Regions from separate parts of the Homo sapiens genome. Here region 2 is linked to region 1. The links are contacts of gene promoters, found by promoter capture Hi-C in human tissues and cell types (Jung and others, 2019). All regions are on one chromosome and are shown on one strand. Each heading gives the region's core, a stretch centred on a gene start or on the middle of the fragment in contact. The rest is flanking DNA. Distances are from core to core; before and after follow the strand shown. Region 1 holds the start of PSMC3 (proteasome 26S subunit, ATPase 3). Region 2 overlaps NUP160 (nucleoporin 160).

What was found. Contacts are between HindIII fragments. The study calls those that stand out against the background at their distance.
Region 2: a fragment that was not itself captured here is called in contact with the fragment with the promoter of PSMC3 in region 1 in 1 of the 25 tissues and cell types used here (spleen).

What each region holds. Positions count from the first base shown.
Region 1 is chr11:47,424,370-47,428,217 of GRCh38, forward strand. PSMC3 (proteasome 26S subunit, ATPase 3) reads right to left here and starts at 2,070. Exons shown (of 12, transcript NM_002804.5): 1 at 1,836-2,070; 2 at 1,498-1,581; 3 at 752-877; 4 at 238-342; 5 at 60-122. The coding sequence starts at 1,910. RefSeq lists silencers at 1,697-1,908, 2,179-2,308 and an enhancer at 1,879-2,078. The HindIII fragment of the contact is 16,812 bases long and covers 1-3,848 here.
Region 2 is chr11:47,777,939-47,781,670 of GRCh38, forward strand. It overlaps NUP160 (nucleoporin 160), which reads right to left. Exons shown (of 36, transcript NM_015231.3): 35 at 2,405-2,509; 36 at 180-1,256. The coding sequence ends at 1,167. Among named protein-coding and RNA genes, the nearest start is that of FNBP4, 12 kb to the left of the region's middle. The HindIII fragment of the contact is 4,077 bases long and covers 74-3,732 here.

The DNA of each region.
Region 1 (3,848 bases), core at 820-3,319:
GGGTACAGGGGCTCAGCTAGTCACCAGAAAAGCACTGCCTGGGCTCAGGCCCCACTCACCACCAGGTCTCCTGGCTTTAGCTTTTCAGCATCCACCAACCCAATCACAGGAAGGAAGTACGTCTGTGGACAAGTTACAGGGGCAGTCTCAGTTAGTGTCCTCAGGGAAGGCTCCCTAGTCCTGTCCCACATCCGCTCCTCACCCTCCTCCAGTCTCTCATTGCTGAGCCACGCTCACCTGTCGTGTAGAGGTTTTGATCACAGCACACTTGCCCTTCCTCTGGGAGTCCAGGTCAATATTGGCACCATCCTCCTCTTGGTCATTAGGATCAACATCCAGGAGCTGGGAAGGAAAAAATACTCAGCTCCTTGAACTCCCCAAGGCCCAGTGCTTCCTAAGACAGTTCCTAATACCTGCAGGGCTGGCCATCCTTACCTCCCTCCTCCAATAGCCCTGAGCCCACCAAACGTGGGTGCCCCTGCTAAGCCCAGGGATTGATCTCTGTGTAGGTGCTGCTCCTCTGCACAGGGCTCATCTACCCCGGAGGAGACATAACCAACAGAAAAGGAGACACGTGAGACCTCCCAGGACTTTGCAGGCCCCGTCTTCCCCATGAAAGTGCCCCAGGAGGTGTAGCTCTGACATGCAGTTTGGCCTCAATACCTCCACCCACTCTTTCCCTAGTGGCCCCACCCCAGGCTGTCCCCATTCCCTGCTGACTCCCTCTCTTCCCCTCCACATACACACACACCTCGATGACGTTGGAGACAAGGTACGGCAGGGTCTTGTTCACTTTGATTTTCTCACTGTTCTCTTTTATCTTGTCCTTCATGGCTTGGAGCTCATGGGTGACTCTCAACACTTCACTCTTCATGATCTGAGATCAGGAGGGGAGGAGAAGCAAATATAAACCCTGGCACAGCTTATGCTAGAGCCCTGTAACTAGTGAGGTCCAGGGTGCCCAGGGGACCCTCCCGCATCCATTCATCCAGCTCTGAGGCTCTCTGAAGGCAGAGTCTGACTGTGTCCACATCCTGCAGAAGTCAAAAGAGGAGGCCAGTTTGGAAACCTCCTGGTGAAATAGTGGTAGTATTGGAATAAAAGCAGGCCTCCGAGAGAGGCAAACATAGGTTTTAGGTTCTGCCTCATAGTAAGAACTGGGTGCTTTATCGCAGTACAAACCTCTCTGGGCCTGTCTCCTCATCTGTAAAATAGGCATTTTACTAAAAGAAGGATTCTTGAGAGGATTATTCCCAGTTCTCACTGGGAAAGGCAATCTGATAACTTCTCATCTCAGCCCAGGCCTCCCACCACCCCCTACCTGTCTTCTTGTCCCTTTTAAGGCTTAGTTTTCTTTCCTCTCTTCCTGATATGAGGGGGAAGCCCGAGCCCCATGTCTCCCCCAGGGTGCCCGATTAGGAAGTACGAGAGGCGACTCGGATCGCCGGGGCCTGTCCTGTGGGGGCTCCATCGCCCGCACAGGAGCTGTGCGCCCACCTTGATCTCACTGTCCAGCAGCCGTGTGCGCTGGATGATCTCCTCCGTGGACATCTTGAGCACCTCCTCCCCAATTCCATCTTGCTGTAAAAAATTATTTGTTTATTTATATATTTACTTTTACTCAGGACAAGCATCCCTCGTTCTCCGAACCCACTCACAGCCTCAGTTTCCACGCCCATAAAACCAGGATGGAGTCAGGACCCCTGCCCACATCCCAAACAACCCCGTCCCCGGGATCGGGCCAGACCTTGACCCCCAGCCACCTCCTTCCCTCTTGTCAATGGCGTCTCCCTGCGGGCCCCGGTTCCCGGACCGCCAGCTCGCCCGGTGCCCACCTCGGCCTCATCCCACACGGTCGCCATCTTCTCCTGCCGAGTCACTGGACTCTCAATATTCGGCAGCAGATTCATTTCCTGGAGGAGCGGGCAGAAGATGGGACCAGGCGGGAGCCGCAACGGGAGATTAATACCGTCTTTCTTAAAGCCTTCTCTTGACCAGTGGAAAACCTCTCCCCACAAATCCCGACTCTTGACCCGACCAGCTCCGGCCGTGCTGCGGAGCAGCGAATCTGCCTCTCCGATTCCAAAGACCAACCCCTGGCCACAGGCCCCGCCCCCGCGGACCCCGAAACGTTCCCGCCCGCGTCCTATTTTTGCCGGGCGCGAGAGGTGGGGCCGCTATTGGCCGACACGCGCGTTGGGGGCGGGGCCTATGTGTAAAACCGGAAAGGGAGGGAGAAGGGTGGGATCCGCGAGGGCCTTTGGGAAATGTAGTCTTTAATCTGGCCCGTGACAGATGCTTGCGGAGGGGCGCGTTCAAACTCAGACCGTGACCCCGCTAGGAATAAGGGGATTTACACAATGACACTGCCTCCCAATTAATAAACGACATAGGCCAGCCGTGTGCAAAGGGCCAAAAAGGCATGCCACCTCAGTCCGCATTTTTACAATTATTTAAGTACAAGCTGGCCACCCGGAGTTACGGGAGGGAATCATTAACCAGCTTTAAAGAGAAATCGCTGCTGCTCCTAACGTCAGAGCAGGCTTCACGGAATTGTCCACGTGGGAAGAACTCAATTGACCATCAGCCTCTACGATTAAAAACATTATGACTCGGGCCGGGCGCGGTGGCTCACGCCTGTAATCCCAGCACTTTGGGAGGCCGAGGCGGGCGGATCACGAGGTCAGGAGATCGAGACCATCCTGGCTAACACGGTGAAACCCCGTCTCTACTAAATATACAAAAAATTAGCCGGGCGTGGTGGTGGGCGCCCGTAGTCCCAGCTACTCCGGGCTGAGCCAGGAGAATGGCATGAACCTCGGAGGCGGAGCTTGCAGTGAGCCGTGATCGCGCCACTGCACTCCAGCCTGGGCGACAGAGCGAGACTCCGTCTCAAAAAAAATTATGTCTCGTATCTGCAATTGTTTGTTTTCTCTGACCATGGTTAGTAATCTCAGTGAGCAGAGCGGGTCTCCGGATCATGGGAGACTCATTCGTTGTACCCTTGTCGGCTATTTTAAATGATCTCTCCTTATCCTTTGAGGTGAGCCCTGGAGCCCCTTTAAAGGGAACTTCATGTAAGCAACATAGCTTATATTTCAAGTCAAACCATCACAAACACTCTGTTAACCTGATGAAAATCTGTGCAATCGTTGCCTTTTTTTTGTTTGCTTGTTTGTTTTTTGTTTTTTGAGACGGAGTCTCGCTCTGTCGCCCAGGCTGGAATGCAGTGGCGCGGTCTCTCCCTACCGCAACCTCCGCCTCCCGGGTTCAATGGATTCTCCTGCCTCAGCCTCTCAAGTAGCTGGGATTACAGGCACCCACCACCACGCCCAACTAATTTTTGTATTTTTAGTAGAGACAAGGTTTCACCATGTTGACCAGGCTGGTCTCAAACTCCTGGGCGTAAGTGATCTTCCTGCCTCAGCCTCCTAAAGTGTTGGTACTATAGGCATGAACCACTACACCTAGCCTTTGCAGTAGTTTTTTTTGGAACACGGTTGAAAGCAGAATTTTTTTCTTTAAATAACAACATGTACAGCTGCTCACTCAGGCTGACAAAGCGTCTCCTCAAGTAACAGTGCTTTATTCCATTCTCTCAACAAGCCTGCCTTGTGGACAGACTGAATTACCATTCTCAAATTTAAATAAGCATAGGGAGGCTCAGAGAGGTTAAGTGCCTTGCTGGAGGTTATTCAGTGAGTCACTGGCAGCACTAGGACTGCTGACCCCAAATTCTCACTTTGAGTTGCCCGATAGGAGCCAAGAAGCCCAGAGGGGAAAGACTGTCCAATCTGTGCTGGTCCCACTATGCCTGGGTCAGTTGGGTCCCATTCTGGGGCCTACTT
Region 2 (3,732 bases), core at 862-3,361, 350 kb after region 1:
TACTGTCGTTGAAAGCCACAGGTTTAGAGAGCTGGGAGGACAGGGGCTCTCCCAGTCCCTAATTGCACCAAATGCCTCGTATTAATCATAGTAGAGCTAAAATGAAAAAAAAAAAAAAAAAAAAAAAAGAAACACACACCTCAGTATCTATCAACAACAGTACCACAGAGAAACTCACATTGTTAATTAAAGTATATAATGTAAATATGGTATTGAAAGTATAAAAATTAAAGGCTTCTGAAAAACTCAAGAAGGGTCAAAAGGCTATACAAGCAAGTAGTATACAGATTGTTTCCTTAAAAGATAAATTTTAATATACAGAATAAAATCCAAGATGATTTTATTATTTTTCACTTTCCCAAAACTTGTGAGCATGAATGCTTCTAAATCTGACCAATGAAGTTTACATTTTGGTCCAATACATTATGAGACTAACTTGTATGATCAAGTCCAGCTTGATTATCATAAATCATAGAAGTTAACAATTTACTCTGAGAATCTGTTGCTAATATAGATGATGGATTTCCAATTTTTTCTTAGCTAAGAATTTACTCAACTTTAGCTCAGAACCAGATTCAAAATATCTTCTTTAATTAGCTGGTCATCATTTTAGGCTTAATCTAGGCAAATTATTTAATACTCAATTGAAGATCATATAAAACCTCCAAAATAAATAAAAAGTACACAAAATTATTAGCTTTTGTGTACAATACAGAAAATACAGGTCAGTTCTGGACCAAAATAATTGCATTAAAATACAAAAGGTGATAGGGAAGAATTAAAAGATTTGCAGTGACTGCTTTTGGTGGTCAGCTACAACAAGCCAACAACCCTCAGCTATTTTGGAAAGTGAAGGTGAGTCTTAATTTGCAGATAATGAATGTCTTCGGTAGTTTAAAAAAATATAAACTCTAAAAAAGCTCGTGAATCATATACAAAAGCAGCTATTTGAGACCAAGGTTGAACACCAGAAATTGTGTTAGCACCACCAGCAAGCACAGGGTCCTCTGACTCTTCCGCCCTCCTATCTTGTGCAGAATGCAGACTTGAATGTTGTACACATCATTTACAGTTACAAAAATCGGCCTTGAGTACAGGGTTCCTGTAGGGTAGTCTTAAGTCCTAAGAGGCACCAAGCGGTTACAAAGGCTAGGTGACAATCCAAATCACAAGGTCCGACGATATAATAAATCCCGTGTTGCCTTATCAACTTTTTGCTGGTAGTCCTCCAATTTGTCAAGTATTTTCTGGGACAGCTATAAGAGAAAAGAAGGAAAACATTACATAACAGCTCAACAATGGAAAAATATTGAAGTTATTAATAACTTTGACTTCACCAAGTAGATTCCACCTTATAAAGATGTTAGCCACTCTGCTTCATAAAATCACCATTTGTTATAGGAGTCTCCTCTGTGACTCTACTGATAAAACTAGGCCTCTCTGTTATATACAACATTTCAGTCTCATTTTCTGAATGAATTTTCTAAGTATGGAAATCGTACCAGTATTTCTAATAAAAGGATCACTAACTCTTTTCTCAGAACCAGAAATGCTGCATCTGATATAACTAGTTATTAGCTGCCAAGTGAAATATAGAACTAATATTTTAGATAGGCTCAGGAGGCACTCTATCTCACTGGTAAACAAAATAAGCCATCACTATAATGACTCAAGGAAACACTATTGTTTTTTATGTTAAGGCAAGCAGGGTGAATATATGACTCCTGAGAAATGTTGTTATATATGCCAACTTCCCTCAGGACAGTGATAATTTATCACACTGTATTTCTTTCTTTTTCAGGGTGGGGGAATGGAGTCTCACTCTGCTGTCTAGGATGGAGTGCGGTGGTGCAATCTTGGCTCACTGGAACCTCCGCCTCCTGGGTTCAAGCGATTCTCCTGCCTCAGCCTCCCGAGTAGCTGGGATTACAGGTGCCCGCCACCATGCCTGGCTAGTTTTGGTATATTTAGTAGAGATGGAATTTCACCATGTTGGCAAAGCTGATCTCGAACTCCTGACCTCTCAGGTAATCTGCCCGTCTCAGCCTTCCAAAGTGCTGGGATTATAGGCGTGAGCCACTGCGCCCGGCCTATCATTGCTGTATTTCAAGTACCTGTTTACCTTGTAGGGTCTGCCCTACCAAATTAAAAGCTTTAAAGGATGGACCGACTGCTTGCCATTTGTCTCTGTATAATTAACACTTACACAGTTCCTCATTATGTTTTCTTGATCCTGTTACTTAGATCCTCTGCCTTATCTATAAAGGGACTGGGCAGTTTGTTAAGGGCCAAAAATAGGCTTTTGTCTTCCCTTTCTAATCCCGGAGAACTGAAGATCAAGCTGTAAGGTGTAACTGCTAGTGCAGGGGCTTACACAAGACGTCTCATGAAAGGGCTGACTTACTGCGATGTTGTGACTGTTGGCACTGTTCTCTCCCAGAGCTTGGAGAAGCTGATCAATAGAGGAGTATGGAAGCCACACCATTGGGGCTGTTGCGGACAGTGGAAACTAAAAGGAAAATGTTTATTTGAAAACAGTCTGCAAAGTGTACCATTTCTTCTGGGTAGTTGCTTTCATAGGACTCTGTAGAATAAAATACCCTTTTTTTTTTTTTTTTTGAGATGGTCTTGTTCTGTCGCCCAGGCTGAGTGCAGTGGCACAATCTCAGCTCACTGCAACCTCCGCCTCCTGGGCTCAAGCAATTCTTGTGCCTCAGCCTCTTGAGTAGCTGGACTACAGATGTGCACCACCATGCCTAGCTAATTTTTTTATGTTTATTTTTAGTAGAGATGGGGTTTCACCATGTTGGACAGGCTGGTCTCAAACTCCTGGCCTCAAGTGATCCACCTGCCTTGGCCTCCGAAAGTGAGCCACTGTGCCCGGCAAAATAAAATGCATTTTTTCCCCCAACCACAAGAAACTGTGTGTATACATGTGCATGCACACAATGGGAACCCTCTTTTCTCCAACTGGGAAACTTGTCATTTTTTTCGGTTAAATATATTTAAAAATTCATGTCGGCTGGGCCTGTAATTCCAACGTTTTGGGAGGCCGAGGTGGGCGGATCACAAGGTCAGGAGTTCGAGACCAGCCTGGCCAATATGGTGAAACCCCGTCTCTACTAAAAATACAAAAATTAGCCAGGTGTGGTGGCACAGATGTAGTCCCAGCTGCTCGGGAGGCTGAGGCTGAAGAATTGCTTGAACCCGGGAGGCGGAGGTTACAGTGAGCCGAGATCATGCCACTGCACTCAAGCCTGGGCGACAGAGCGAGACTCCGTCTTGGAAAAAATAAAAAAATAAAAATAAAAAATAATTTCATGTCAACTTTCTTTTTTTTTTCAGACAGGGTCTCACTCTGTCACTCAGGCTGGAGTGTAGTGGCATGATCATAGCTCACTGTACCCTCAACCTCCAGGGCTCATGTGATCCTCCCACCTCAGCTTCCCACATAGCTGGGACTATAGGCACGCACCACCATGACCAGCTAATTTTTTTCTATTTTTTGTAGATAAAGGTTCTCACTATGTTGCCAAGGCTGGTCTTAACCTCTGGGTTTAAACGATCCTCACACCTTGACCTCCGAAAGTGCTAGGATTACAGGTGTGAGCTATTGCACCTGGCTGATTTCATGAGGGTTGAAGCTGTAGTTAACTACACCTATTTAGACCTGGCTCTTCTATTATATTTGCCATCTGTATGAGCCTGTGATAACCTCTGAGCCTGTTCCCT